Regions from separate parts of the Homo sapiens genome. Here region 2 is linked to region 1. The links are contacts of gene promoters, found by promoter capture Hi-C in blood cells and fetal thymus (Javierre and others, 2016). All regions are on one chromosome and are shown on one strand. The core of a region is centred on a gene start or on the middle of the fragment in contact, and the rest is flanking DNA. Distances in the headings are between cores, read along the strand shown. Region 1 holds the start of FAF2 (Fas associated factor family member 2). Region 2 overlaps FAF2 (Fas associated factor family member 2).

Evidence for each region. The method cuts DNA at HindIII sites, captures the fragments that hold promoters and counts their contacts. A CHiCAGO score of 5 or more calls a contact.
Region 2: a fragment that was not itself captured here is called in contact with the fragment with the promoter of FAF2 in region 1 in 1 of 17 cell types (endothelial precursors); the score reaches 5.1 in endothelial precursors.

Annotation. Positions count from the first base shown.
Region 1 is chr5:176,443,767-176,451,488 of GRCh38, reverse strand. FAF2 (Fas associated factor family member 2) reads right to left here and starts at 3,104. Exons shown (of 11, transcript NM_014613.3): 1 at 3,019-3,104. The coding sequence starts at 3,081. RefSeq lists enhancers at 3,024-3,083, 3,394-3,453, 3,534-3,723 and a silencer at 3,164-3,213. The HindIII fragment of the contact is 11,476 bases long and covers 2,676-7,722 here.
Region 2 is chr5:176,480,060-176,487,781 of GRCh38, reverse strand. FAF2 (Fas associated factor family member 2) reads right to left here. Exons shown (of 11, transcript NM_014613.3): 3 at 1,293-1,427. Among named protein-coding and RNA genes, the nearest start is that of FAF2, 36 kb to the right of the region's middle. The HindIII fragment of the contact is 1,104 bases long and covers 2,549-3,652 here.

The DNA of each region.
Region 1 (7,722 bases), core at 1,855-4,354:
TCAACACTGAGGCAACTCATCTCAACACTGTAATCTCAACCTCTGAGGCAGCAGTTTGAGAGCAGCCTGGACAACATAGCAAGACTCCCGTCTCTACTTAAAAAAAAATTTTTTTTTTGAGACAGAGTCCCGCTCTGTTGCCCAGGCTGGAGTGCAGTGGCACGATCTTGGCTCACTGCAACCTCCACCTCCCGGGTTCAAGTGAGCCTCCTGCCTCAGCCCCCCTAGTAGCTGGGATTACAGGCACATGCCACCATGCCTGGCTAATTTTTGTATTTTTAGTAGAGACGAGGTTTTGCCATGTTGGCCAGGCTGGTCTCGAACTCCTGATCTCAGGTGATCCACCTGCCTCGGCCTCCCAAAGTGCTGGGATTACAAGCATGAGCCACCACACATGGTCTAAAATATTTTTCTTAAAAAAAGAGTTAATGTACATCAACTGCTGCTTGGTATAATGCTTGGCATCTAATAAGTTTCAACAACTGTTTGTTTAATGGCAGTCTGGATAATGAATCTGATCCAGCGATTGCTTATAGAATAGAAAAATGAAAGATGCATTTCCCTCAATAAATCCAATTTCATAAGGCAATCTTAATACAGCTCGAACCTGCTACCCACCTCTCTTCTAATAAAGATCTCCACAGTTTTGGCCGGGCGCGGCGGCTCACGCCTGTAATCCCAGCCGAGGAGGGCGGATCACGAGGTCAAGAAATCGAGACCATCCTGGCCAACATCGTGAAACCCCGTCTCTACTAAAAATACAAAAAATTCGCTGGATGTGGTGGCGCGTGCCTGTAGTCCCAGCTACTCGAGAGGCTGAGGCAGGAGAATCGCTTGAAACTGGAAGGCGGAGGTTGCAGTGAGCCGAGATCGCGCCACTGCACTCCAGCCTGGGCAACAAGAGCGAAACTCCGTCTCAAAAAAAAAAAAAAGATCTCCACAGAAGATAAAATGGAGGTTCCTATGCACTTTACTTCAGAAATGCTATCATAGATTTATATTCATGCTCTTCCAGTATGAGACTAAATATACCATAATTTATAACTCACATTACTTCATTGCACTTAAACCACATGTTAGCTTACCCCTGAAGAGTTCTAAGGGGTAAAATGGTCTGCCAAAGTTAAACAACACTCTGAAATTGGTGGTCTACCTGGAAGTGTAAGCTGGTTGTCTGTTTAACTCATTCTCTAATAATAATTTGCTGGGTCATCAATTCAATTTCTCTACCAAAAATTCCAATCAAATGTCAATTACATCTATGACAGCATTTTTCCATTTATACACTTCCAACACACTGCTCAATTTAAGAGGGGAAAAAATAACCACTTCAAAATTTATTATAGTGAAGTCTATTCAAGGAAATTGCAAAAAAGTGAGAACTCGCCAAAAAAATATTTATTTTCTCAGCATTTGCATTCCACACTCAACTGTACACTGAAATATAAGTTGCACAAGACAGAAGTCAGAAGCCTGGGAAGGGTTCTGGAAGATGGACATAGCTTTAAATCTGACACCATCATTTTCTAGCTGTGTAACCTAAGCATTTTATTTCTTAGTCCTGATACCCTTCATCTGTAAATCAGGGACTAGAACAGTATGAACCTCATAGGGTTGCTGTATTAAATGAGGTTATGTATGCTAAGTGTTTACAAAGTACTTACATCTGAAATAGTAAGTGGGATTCTACCTAGCAGCGCTGCGCACTAAGGTTCTTCATATAGTTGAATAAATGAATATTTACACATTTTATATAAGGAAATAAGTGTATCAATAACTTTAGGTCTATCCTAAGTCAAATTAATAGCAGAAAATACTATTTGGGGGCATTTTGCAGTCTACAAGGCCCTTCTAACATCCATATGTCCATTTGATCTCCCGAACATCCTCAGGAGGTAGATTTTTTTTTTTTTGAGACGGAGTTTCACTCTTGTTGCCCAGGCTGGAGTGCAGTGGCACGATCTCGGCTCACTGCAACCTCCGCCTCCCGGGTTCAAGCGAGTCTCCTGCCTTAGCCTCCCGAGTAGCTGGGACCACAGGCGTGCACCACCACGCCCGGCTAATATTTGTATTTTTAGTAGAGACGGGGTTTCACCATATTGGCCAGAGTGGTCTCGAACTCCTGACCTCGTGATTCGCTGGCCTTGGCCTCCCAAAGTGCTGGGATTACAGGCGTGAGCCACCGCTCCTGGCCTGGGGGTAGACATTTTTAAGACAGTCCTTTCAGAGATAAGGAAACTGGTAACAAAGTGCCAAGGTTACCCACCCTAGTGGTATCCTCCAACCATTCTCCAGCTCAGGGGTAAGTGATCAGTGGCAAATGTTCTTAATACAACATCTTGTATTAACATAACATTTCTGCAAGTTACCACCCTCCTCAAGCATAGTTAAGCACAGGAATCCAGGAATAAGCCAAAAGTAATAAATCCCGACAGACCACTGATGACACTTATCATCTTGCATTGTTTCCTCACTTGGTGTCCTCCCACACCTCTAGGGCGGGGACCAGATCTGTGTGTAGGTGCCCCCTCCCCGACCGGAACCCCCAACACGAAACCTGGTATCCAAGAGGCCCCAGTTTGTGGGAGTGTATGTGGAAATGGCATGGGATGCTGGCAGGAGGTTTTCCTGTCAGAGACCCGAAATGACGCCAACTCCGCGGTGGGGACTAAGCTTCTCCGGCAGATATAGACTCGTTGGGCGGAGAGGGTCCGACCGATAACCGGGCTGGGAAGGATGGCTGAGGACTGACGCCGCTAAGGCAAACCAGGGAAGCTGACACGCTGAGGGCACAGAGGCACAGACGAGGCGGGTCTGCCCGCAGCGATGGCTGGAAGGCTAGGGTCCAACAGAGGCTTGGGGGCCGGGGGAATCAGGGCAGTTGGAGTCTGGGGGGGAGGGGGCCGGCCTGCTGGTCTGAGAAGGATCTGAACCCAATCTGAGGAGGGTTCTGAACTCCTCTAGGGGCCTACTCCCCATCCCACGGAGGCATCTGCTGCACCGAGTACTCGCTGCTACCTGAAACTGCAGCAGCTTCTCTGTCTGCTCCTGGGTTAGATCCCGCTCCTCAGGCGCCGCCATTTTGCCGCCGCCTCTACGCTCCTGACCCGTCCGCACCGTCACCCGCCGGAACTGACCTCAGCCACAACCACATCCGGTCTGAACGGCCGCCGGCGCGCAACTGCGTCTGCGCGCGCTGGCCCACTAACCTCCCCCCGCCCCCCGCCACCTCTGGCCGCCGCCAGAGGGCGCCACGCTCGGGCCTATCCCGAACACTTCCGGAAATTGCCGAGGGACTGTCGGTACAAGTCGCTCTTACCATTTAGGCGACGAAAGGATCTGCTAAGATTAGGCGACGAAAGGAGACCTAAGATTCCAGTGCAGTCTTGCAGAGCCGAGAGGGCCCGAATGTGCCTCGAGAAGCTCCGGAGCATCCCGAATGGCATTCGGCTGATTTCGGCTGCTCTCTAACCATTTTCCGGCAACCTCAGATACTCTTGGAGGTTTCTCGGGAGACGCAGCCGTTCCGAAATACCAGCCTTTTGGTCGCTGGCCCCTGACCTAAAGTTTCCAAAAGCTCCTGACCATCTCTCGGGAGGTTCCGAAGGGCTCTGGATACTGGCGCGGCATTTCCGACGCCGCCTTCGAAGCGGAAGCTGTGGGCAGACTTCGGCCACCGTTCCATTGCCGCTTCGGGGTCACTTGCAGGAAGATCTGGACTCGGCTCCCCGGATCCTCGACCATTCATGGCGCCCCCAGTCGTCCGCACAGCTTGCCGTCCACCGCCGTGACTGCGGCGCTGGAACCCCGGCCCGGCATCTGCTTTTCCGTGCCTGGAGCCTTGTCTCTCCGCACTAGCGCTGCACTGGCCCCTTGTCTCTGTGACAGGCGAAGAAAGATCCCTGGACCGGGATTAGGAGACGCGGGTTCTAGTTGCCACCTTGCCAACTGCTGGACATCCTTGGGCAAACCACTTGGGCTCCATTTTGCCATTTGTTGAATGAGATTCCCCAAAAGCCCCTGACGTGCTGCCGCCGCCCCTTCTCCTCGAGGCAGTCCCCTGCCCTTCCCTTCTGCTGCTTACACTACCCTATCACCACCCCTCAATCTCTATCTTCCTCTGCACGTCCCTTGCCCCTTCTAGTCCGCCACCTCTCTTTAGATTTCCCGTTTTCATTTCCACCTCTCCCGCCGAACGCCTCCTCTGCCCACCTTCCAGAGAGGCCTGGGTCTGGTACACGCTTTTCCACTGACCACCTGTGTGATTCTCAGCAAGGCTCTCGGCCGCCTGCGCCCCACCCTCGTCCCCTTGCAGGGTTGATCCGGTGAGACAGAAAAGGCTTTGAGAGCTGGTTCTGTGAAGAGTACATGAAATTTTGGCTACTTCTTTCAGGACTTATCAGGTCTTACCAGGTCTGCACAAACCACGACGTCCTGGAAAAACAGCACATGGTACGCCCTAAAACACAACCCCCAAAAAGTGCTAATTGGAAAAACAAAACAAAACAAAACAAAAACCCTGCAAATTTGGATCTGCATATGAAATCTTTCCGTTTAAAAATGGTGTCGGCCGGGCTCTGTGGCTCACGCCTGTAATCCCAGCGCTTTGGGTGGCCGAGGCGGGCGGATCACTTGAGGTCAGGAGTTCGAAACTGGCCTGGCCAACATGGCGAAACCCTGTCTCTACTAAAAATACAAAAATTAGCCAGGGTTGGTGGCGCACGCCTGTAGTCCTAGCTACTCGGGAGGCTGAGGCAGGAGAATCGCTTGAATCTGGGAGGCGGAGGTTGCAGTGAACTGAGATTGCCCCACTGTACTCCAGCCTGGGCGACGGAGTGAGACTCCGTCTCAAAAATAAATAAATAAATAAATAATATGTCAATTAAGTAAAAACCCCCGAAGGTAAAATCGGAAGCAGATAGCTGCTACTCTATAGAGAATTTATTACAGCAGCTCAAAGCTCAAAGGAAACTCAGTGTTGTTCAATCTCACCAATAACGTTGGGTTCAGATAAACTAAATGAGGGTTGGCAAAGTCAGATGTCCTCAGGAATTGTGTAATTCTCACTTAAGATATATACTTGCCAGCAGGCATGGTGGCAAATGCCTGTAGTCCCAGCTACTCGGGAGGCTGAGGTGAGAGGACCACTTGAGGCCATGAGTTCAAGGCTGTTGTATGCTGTGATCACACCACTGCATTCCAGCCTGGGTAACATATTCTTTCAACAGACCTAATTTGTAGTTATATGAAACACCATTGAATATTTCTTCACTTCCTCAAAGAAAGTTACACTTTCTTTTTCTATCTTTCTGTTTTCTTCTTTCTTTCTTTCTTTTCTTTGAGACGGAGTCTTGCTCTATCGCCCAGGCTGTAGTGCAGTGGCCTGATCTTGGCTCACTGCAAGCTCTGCCTCCTGGGTTCATGCCATTCTCCTGCCTCAGCCTCCTGAGTAGCTGAGGCTTACAGGTGCCTGCCACCATGCCCGGCTAATTTTTTTTTTGTATTTTTAGTAGAGATGGGGTATCACCGTCTTAGCCAGGATGGTCTACGATCTCCTGACCTCGGGATCCGCCCGCCTCGGCCTCCCAAAGTGCTGGGATTACAGACGTGAGCCATCGCACCTGGCCCTGTTTTCTTCTTTCAATAAAGATTAGGTTACAAGAAATAATTCATTTGTTTAAAACTCTACTTTAATGTGTCTCCGTGTGGGGACAAAATATGAAAAGCCGGAGTGTCCATTCCCTGTCCAAAGGTGGTTTTTGGCCAGACGCGGTGGTTCATGCCTGTAATCCCAGCATTCTGGGAGGCCAAGGTGGGAGGATTGTTTGAGCCTAGGAGTTGGGGACCAGCCTAGGCAATATAGTGAGACTGCCTCTACCAATTTTTTTTTTTTTTTTTAATTAGCCAAGTGTGGGCCGGGCACGGTGGCTCACACCTGTAATCCTAGCACTTTGGGAGGCTGAGGCGGGCAGATCTTGAGGTCAGGAGATCAAGACCATTCTGGCTAACACAGTGAAACCCTGTCCCTACTAAAAATAAAAAAAAATTAGCCAGGCATGGTGGCAGATGCCTGTAGTCCCAGGCCGAGGCAGGAGAATCGCTTGAACCTGGGAAGCAGAGGTTGCGGTGAGCCGAGATCGTGCCACTGCACTCCAGCCTGGGCAACAGAGCGAGACTCTGTCTCAAAAAAAAAAAAAAAGTTAGCTGAGTGTGTTAGTACGCATCTGCAGTTCTACCTAGTTAGGATGCTGAGGCAGGGATGATCACTTAAACCCGGGAGGCAGAGGTTGCAGTGAGCCATAGTCATGACTGCACTCCAGCCTGGGTAACAGAGCAAGACCCTGTCTCAAAAAAACAAACAAAAACAAAACAAAACAAAAAACAGACGGTTTCTGCCTTTTAGCTGTGGAGGATGGCTTCCATGTATTGCCGGAACTGCCCATTTTTTTTTCAGAGCACAGACATTCTCACCCCCCCAAAAAAATGTGAGGTGATGCATATGTTCATCAGCTTGATTTAGCCATTCCACAAAGTACACATATTTCAAAACATCATGTCCTACATGATACATTTTATTTGAAAAACATCACATTGTACACCTTAAAAAGTAAAATATGCTAATTTGAAAAGAAAAACTCTACACATTTGGATTTCCATGTGAAATCCCCCCATTTAAAAATGGTGTTGGCCAGGCGCGGTGGCTCATGCCTGTCATCTCAGCCCTTTGGAAGGCCGAGGTGGGTGGATCATCTGAGGTCAGGAGTTCAAGACCAGCCTGGACAACATGGTAAAACCCCGTCTCTATGAAAAATAGAAAAATTAGCCAGGGATGGTGGCCCGCACCTGTAATCCCAGCTACTTGGGAGGCTGAGGCAGGAGAATCACTTGAACCTGGGAGGCGGCGGTTGCAGTGAGTCGAGATCACGCCATTGCACTCCAGCTTGGAAGATAAGAGTGAAACTCCGTCACAAAAAGAAAAAAAGAAAAAGGTGTGAACTAATTCAATTCAAAAAAAGGTGTCAATTTCAAGAAAATTACTCTGCAAGTCAACCAGAATTGGAAGAAGCCTCATAGCCTCTGTTTGCCATGGAAGAAGCAGACCTGGGAAGAAACTCAAACTTTTTTTTGATAAGTTCAAGATGAAGAGTGTGAAAAGTGTTACCAGTTATTGGCTTGCCTTTTCTTTTTTTTATTTATATTTATATTTTATTTTATTTTATTTTATTTTTTGAGACGGAGTCTTGCTCTTGTAGCCCAGGCTGGAGTGCTGTGGTGCAATCTTGGCTCACTGCAAGCTCCGCTTCCTGGGTTCACACCATTCTCCTGCCTCAGCCTCCCAAGTAACTGGGACTACAGGCGCCCGCCACCACACCCGGCTAATTTTTTTGTATTTTTAGTAGAGACGGGGTTTCACCATATTAGCCAGGATGGTCTCCATCTCCTGACCTCGTTATCTGCCTGCCTCAGCCTCCCAAAGTGCTTGGGATTACGGGCGTGACCCACCACACCCAGCCTACTTTTTTTTTTTTTTTTTGAGACAGATTCTTGCTCTGTCACCCAGGCTGGAGTGCAGTGGCACTATCTCGGCCCACTGCAACCTCTGCCACCTAGGTTAAAGCGATTCTCCTACCTCAGCCTCCCAAGTAGCTGGGATTAAAGGCACATGCCAACAAGCCCGGCTAATTTTTGTATTTTTAAGTAGAGATGGGCTTCTCCAGGTTG
Region 2 (7,722 bases), core at 1,851-4,350, 36 kb before region 1:
GGACATTGGTATATAAACATTAAATAATTATATTAACCACAATGACAAATCCCCATATAGCTGCTTATCTTAGTAATAATGCTAATTATTATTGCTGTTATTAATTATTAAAACTAGCATACATCCAGGGCTCTATAGTTTATAAAGCATTTCATAGTTGTCACATTGTGTTAACCTGAGACACTTTCTGTGTCTGTGGCCAGGAAGCTCTGGAGCCCCATGGCTGACATGGGAATCTGCTACTGTACTTCAGAAAACCACAGAGCACTACTTAGAAACATGTTTTAAAACATCAAGTAGGCCAGGCACAGTGCCTCAAGCCTGTAATTCCAGCACTTTGGGAGGCTGAGGTGGGCAGATAACTTGAGCTCAGGAGTTCAAGACCAGCCTGGGCAACATAGCAAGACCCCATCTCTACAAAAAATACAAAAATTAACCAGGATGGTGGCGCACACCTGTAGTCCCAGCTACTTAGGAGGCTGAGGTGGAGGACTGCTTGAGCCCGGGAGGTCTAGGCTGCAGCGAGCCAAGATCATGCCACTGCACTCCAGGCTGGGCGACAGAGTGAGACCCTGTCTCAAACAGAACAAAACACAACAAAAATCAAGTACTCCACAAAAAGGCTTGATGATGGAGTAAATTCTAACTGCTGCAATGTTAAAGGGAGTGTTTTCTTAGGATTCTAAATGCAAGTATAAAAGTATAAGAGGTGAGTATAACCCCAGGGGTAAGAAAAAGAAAGTCCAAGCAGTTCTTTAGAATTCATTATCAGTGTACACATCTGACTTCCTTCAATAGACTGTGAGAAATTGAATTTGAAATGGGAAGACTGGCTCTTTATTCATGTCTGGATCCCTAGTAGCAAGATACCAGGTTATTGGAGTACTCTTAAATGTCTGTCAAATTTAAGTGAACCACCTCCTTGCTACTAGCCCTTCAAGGCTAATTTCAAAGACGTGGCCAAAGCTCCTACAAAGATTCCATATACTTCCTCAAAACTGGTTTAAGATTAAGTAAACTGAAGCAACAAAGAACTTGAGTAAACAAATTGTAACTTAAGAGGCAGAAAACACTCTCCAAATAACTGGCAAAGAAAAGAAAAAAAAAATGAGTAGTTTCTGTAACAATTCCTTGAGGAATCAAGGCAAAATAATACACCCAACGGGCCAAGTCTAACTAACAGGTTTACATTCTAAATATTTGTTTTGCTCCTGTCACAGGGAGATCAATATAACCAAGTGGATATACTTATAAATAAAAAAGGGGGAAATCCCAGCTATGAAATAACTTGCCCTTGGTTGAGGTCTTGAGACAACATAGCTGTAGATCCTGTGGTCAGCTGTATTAACCTGCAGGGGTCGTGATGGAGGTGGGTTGAAAACACTAGGTACGCCCTCTTGCTCATTCAATCTGTCCTGTACAGCAGCCTGAGAAGGAAAACGGAGTGGCAAGAGTTTCAGCGATGCTCAAATCAACCAACAACAAGAGGTGAGGCAACTATTGCGTGGTATTCCAAAACAGGATGGTCATGAATACACCAAAAGGTCACTGAGGAGTGCACCTTCATGGGCCTGTTAACCGGCTGTACTTGGAGGCAACTGGAGTTGTCACTCCAGAATGCATCCATGGTAGAGGAGACGAGGAAACTTGTCTGGAAGCTACATTTATGCAGCAAGCGTACTGCCTGGATTCAGATGGCATGTATTATTTAGGGTGGCTGGGATATAAAGTGCTTCACTGTACAATCCCAAGAAAAGCCATCCTCAGAGAATACAATGTAGGCAGTACCCCTGGAGTTATGCAGTGAAGCAGTCCTGATGAGTGGCATCTGATGAAGGGGCTTGCAGCAGAGAAACTTCGGTCTGATCCAAGCTCCATCTCTCTGAAAAGTTGCTCAATGTATGAGCCTCAGGTCAGGCGCGGTGGCTCAAACCTGTAATCCTAACACTTTGGGAGGCTGAGGTGAGAGGATTGCTTGAGCCCAGAGACCAGAAATTCGAGACCAGCCAGGGCAATGAAACGAGACCCTGTCTCTAAAAATAAAAAATAAAGAAGAAAAAAACATATGAGCCTCAGTTTCCTCATGTGCAAAATAAAGGAACAATATTTCTGAGTTAATCTGAAAATTTAATGAGTTGGCCACACATAAAGATCCTAATACAACTCCTGTCAGACTACTGATATTCAGTTTAAAAAATTCATTCCCTCCTTAACTCTGTCCTTGAAATAGATATTTGTCTCAATGTAGTAAAAAAAAGTTGACCTTACCCAAAGAGATGTCTGATCTTTCCCTTTTGGGAGGTAATCTATGTCAGACCTGATAAGCATGTCTTTGTTACTAGATTTTAGGTTGCAGCTGCAACACCCAGTAGTCTTAGGGTGAAAGCCGGCCATGCCAGAAAGACCAACCATGTGGTTTAGGGTGGGGAACTTTGGACAACTTGGTATCAGTTGACTTGAAGACTGAGTTCAACCATGTGGGCAGCCAAACAAATCAATCGTGCCTATGTAATGATGCCCTAATAAATTCTCTGGAAGCACTGAAGCTTCCCTGGTTGGCAATACAGTAGTCCCTTCTTATCCACAGGGATATGTTCCAAGACCTCTAGTAGATTCCTGAAACCATGTATAGTACCGAACTTGAATGCTGTCATTGGAAGCTATTTCTCTTCATGTCTTCCACTCAAAAAATGCCTTTTCCATCTTAACTATGCACTTATCATGCACTGTGGCTGCAATTTTTGCAGAAGTGTGACCATAAAACTACTATGAATTTCTTTTTCTTTCTTCACAATTTCACAAACACAAGCTAGATCTTAGCAACTTCAGCATATAATTTTTTTATTTCCTCATTAAGTCAGGAACTTTAACCTTTTTTTTTTTTTTTCTTGAGATGGAGTCTTATTCTGTTGCCCAGGCTGGAGTGCAGTGGCATGATCTCAGCTCACTGCAACCTCCGCGCCCCCAGGTTCAAGCGATTCTCCTGCCTCAGCCTCCCGAGTAGCTGGGATTACAGGCTCCTGCCACTGTGCCCAGCTAATTTTTGTATTTTTAGTAGAGACGGGGTTTCACCATCTTGGCCAGGCTGGTCTTGAACTCCTCACCTCATGATCTACCTGCCTCGGCCTCCCAAAGTGCTGGGATTACAGGCATGAGCCACTGCTGGCCAGGAACTTTAACCTTTTCACTTAAAGGACACATTTCCTGGCTTCTCTCTAGCATAGCTGAGTTGCCAGCATCACTACTCCTGTGCTTTGGGGCCAATATTAAGTAAAATAGGGGAACCTGAACAAAAGTACTGTAATGGCACAACAGTTGATCTGATAACGGCTACTAACTGACTAACAGGTGGGTCTTGTATACAGTATGGAGACGCTGGACAAATGGATAATTCACGTTCCGGGTAAGGTAGAATGGGACAGAGTGAGATTTCATCATGTTTCTCAGAACAGCATGCATTTTAAAACTTATGAATTGTTTATTTCTGGAATCTTCCACTTAATATTTTCAAACCACAGTTGCCTACTAGTAACTGAAACCACAGAATGTGAAACTGTGGGTGGAGGGGGCTACTATACTTCATGCATATTGTTATACATCTATGCCAAGAAGGTAATGTGTCCCGACTCTGCAGGAGCGTAGTATGCAAGCTTCATGTCCAAAATCCTTTTAGACTCTGCCCCCTTTTTTTCTTTTTTTTTCTTTTTTTGAGACGGAGTCTAGCTCTGTCACCAGGCTGGAGTGCAGTGGTACAATCTCGGCTCACTGCAACTTCCCCCTCCCAGGTTCAAGCAATTCTCCCACCTCATCCTCCAAGTAACTGGGATTACAGGCACGCACCGCCACACACAGCTAATTTTTGTATTTTTAGTAGCGATGGGGTTTCACGATGTTGGCCAGAATGGTCTTAAATTCCCGACCTCGTGATCCACCCACCTTGGCCTCCGAAAGGGCTGGGATTACAGGCGTGAGCCACCACACCCGGCCAACTCTGCCCTATTTGTCTCTTCCTTTAGCTGCTTTTAATCTATATGTTCCCTATAATAAACTATAACCATGACTATAACAACTTTCAGTGAGTTCTAGTGAATTAGCAAATCTGAAGACGGTTTTGCGACACTCTGAAACTGCAGGTGGTTTCAGAAGTGAAGGTGGTCTTTAGGAGGGCAGTGTGCCCTCTGAACTCAATTACTAGCTTCAAACTTTGAAATTTGGCTAATATCAGGTAGTCCCCTAGTTTTACAATTCAACGAGGAAAGAATAATCTTTCAACAAATGATGCTGGGATAATTGGATATCCACATGCAAAAGAAAGTGGATTAACCCCTAGATCACACTATACATAAAAATTAACTACAAATACATCAAATACATCAAAAACCTAAATGTAAAAGCTGAAATTATAAAACTCTTAAAACAAGGGTATAAATCTTCCCAACCTCAGATTAAGCAAAAGTATCTTAGATACGACAACAAAAGCACACGCGACAAAAGAAAAAAGTAGATAAATTGGACTTCATCAAAACGAAAAACTTTTCTGCATCAAATTACACTATCATGAATGCGGCAAGATAGCATGTACCTGTAGTCTGAGGTGTCAGGGAGGCTGAGGCAGGAAGGCTTCTTGAGCCCAGGACTTCAAGGTTACAGTGAGCTATGATCAGGCCACTGCACTCCAGCCTGGGCAACAAACCAAGACTCCATCTCTCAAAAAAAATAAAATAAATAAAAATAAATAAAAAAAAGAAAACAGGCCGGGCACAGTGGCTCACACCTGTAATCCCAGCACTTTGGGAGGCCGAGGCGGGCGGATCACAAGGTCAAGAGACCAAGACCATCCTGGCCAACACTACTAAAAATACAAACAACAACAACAACAACAACAAAACCACAAACCACTATCAAGAGAGTAAAAAGATAACTCGCAGAAAGGGAGAAAACATTTGCAAATTAAATATCAGATAAGCACCAGGCATGGTGGCTCACGTCTGGAATCCCAACACTTTGGGAAGACAAGCTGGGAGAATCACTGGAGCCCAGGAGTTTAAGACCAGCCTGGTCAATACAGCGAGACCCCATCTGTACAAAAAATAAAAAAATAAAATATTAGCTGGATGTGGTGGTGTGTGCTTGTAGTCCTAGCTACTCAGGAGGCTGAAGTGAAAGGATCACTTGAGTCTGGGAGGTCAAGGCTGCAGTTAGCCATAATAGTACCACTGTACTCCAGCCTGGGCAACAGAGAGAAATCCTGTCTCAAAAAAACATAAACTGGCCAGACGCAGTGCTTACGCCTGTAATTCCAGGAATTTGGGAGGCCAAGGCGGGTGGATCACTTGAGGCCAGGAGTTCAACACCAGCCTGGCCAACATGGAGAAACCTCGCCTCTACTAAAAATACAAAAATTAGCCGGGCATGGGACACCTGTAGTCCCAGCTACTCAGGAGGCTGAGGCAGGAAAATTATTTGAACCTGGGACGTGGAGGTTGCAGTGAGCCGTGATCACGCCTCTGCACTCTAGCCTGTGCCACAGAGTGAAACTTCATCTCAAAAAAAAAAAAAAACTTTCACAGCTCAACATGAAAAAGATAACCAAATTTAAGAACTGGCAAAGGACTTGAATAGACATTTTTGCAAAGAAGATATGCAAATGTTCAATAAGAATATGAAAAAATATTCAACATCATTTTAGCCACTAGGGAAATGCAAATCAAAACCACCCTAGATCACTAGGGTGAGTATGATCTAGAAGACAAATATTAACAAGTGTTGGTGAGGGTGTGGAGAAATTCAGACCTTCCTACAACGCTGTTGGGAATTTAAAATGGTATAACCACTTTGAAAACAGTCTGGGAGCTCTTCAAAAGGTTAAACATAGTGTCACCATATGACTCAGCAAAGTCCATTCCTAGGTATAGACCCAAAGGAAATGAAAACACATATTCACACAAGAGCTTGAACGCTAGGGCCCGGTGTGGTAGCGTGGGCCTGTAGTCCCATCTACTTGAAGCTGAGGTCAGAGGAATGCTTGAGCCCAGGAGTTCAACTGCAGTGAGCTATGATCAAACCTGCACTCCAGCTTGGGTGACACAGTAAGACCCTGTCTCTCTCTCTCCCTTTTTTTTTTTGAGACAGAGTCTCACTCTGTCCCCCAGGCTGGAGTGCAGTGGCATGTTCTCAGCTCACTGCAAGCTCTGCCTCCCGAGTTCACGTCATTCTCCTGCCTCAGCCTCCCGAGTAGCTGGGACTACAGGCGCCCACCACCACACCTGGCTAATTTTTTATATTTTTAGTAGAGACAGGGTTTCATTGTGTTAGCCAGGATGATCTCGTTCTCCTGACCTCGTGATCTGCCTGCCTTGGCCTCCCAAAGTGCTGGGATTACAGGCGTGAGCCACCGCGCCCGGCCCAACCCTGTCTCTTAGAAAGAAAAAAACAAGGCCAGGTGTGGTGGCTCATGCCTGTAATCCTAGCACCTTGGGAGGCGGAGGTGGGTGGATCACAAGGTCAGGAGATCAAGACCAGCCTGGCCAATATGGTGAAACCTCGTCTCTACTAAAAATACAAAAAATTAGCCGGGCGTGGTGGTGCACACCTATAATCCCAGCTACTCAGGAGACTGAGGCAGGAGAATTGCTTGAACCCGGGAGGCGGAGGTTGCAGTGAGCCAAGATCACACCACTGCACTCCAGCCTGGGCAACAAGAGCAAAACTCCATCTCAAAAAAATAAAAATAAATAAAGATAAAAAAACAAAAAGCAAAACTCTCCAGATCCTCTGTTCCATTTCCTATGCTCATCTCATTTGTCATTTATTTATTTTTTTAAATTATACTTTAAGTTCTGGGATACATGTACGGAATGTGCAGGTTTGTTACATAGGTATACACATGCCATGGTGGTTTGCTGCACCCATCAACCCGTCATCTACATTAGGTATTTCTCCTAATGCTATCCCTCCCCTAGCCCCCCAGCCCCCCACCCCCCGAGAGGCCCCGTGTGTGATGTTCCCCTCCGGTCATTTATTACAAACTGAAATTCTCTAGAATTAAGTTCCATAAGAGTAGGGACTTGGCTGGATGTGGTGGCTCACACATGTAATCCCAGTACTTTGGGAAGCTGAGGCAGGAGGATTGCTTGAGCCCAGGAATTCAAGACCAGCTTGGGCAACACAGCAAGACCTCGTCTCCACAAAAAAATTAAAAATCAGCTGGGCATGGTGTTACATGTTTGTAGTCCCAGCTATTTGGGAGGCTAGGGCAGGAAAATTGCTTGAGCCCAGAAGTCAAAGGCTGTAGTGAGGTATGCTTGTGCCAATGCATTCCAGCCCAGGTGACAGAGCAAGACCCCGTCTTAAAAAAATTAAAAAAGAGTAAGGACTTACTTTTGTTCACTAATATAATGCCAGAGCCTAGAGTTTAATTGCTCAAAAATGTGTTGAATAACGAAATCATATTAGGAATACATTTTATTAAAAAAAAAAACTGGAAAAAAAAAGGGAACACGTTTTTAGGAATCCAGCACCCTTTTAAAATAGCATATAATAATTAAAACAGTAATTTGGGATCAAGAGGGTGTTTTGACAAAATTCAACATCCACTCAGTATAAACTATTAATATACTAAGAATGGAAGGGAAAAACCAACAGATATTTATTTCCATGTTATATGCTGGGAATACAGCAGTTAAAACAAAACAAAAAAATCTCTGCTCTTAGGGAGCTTAC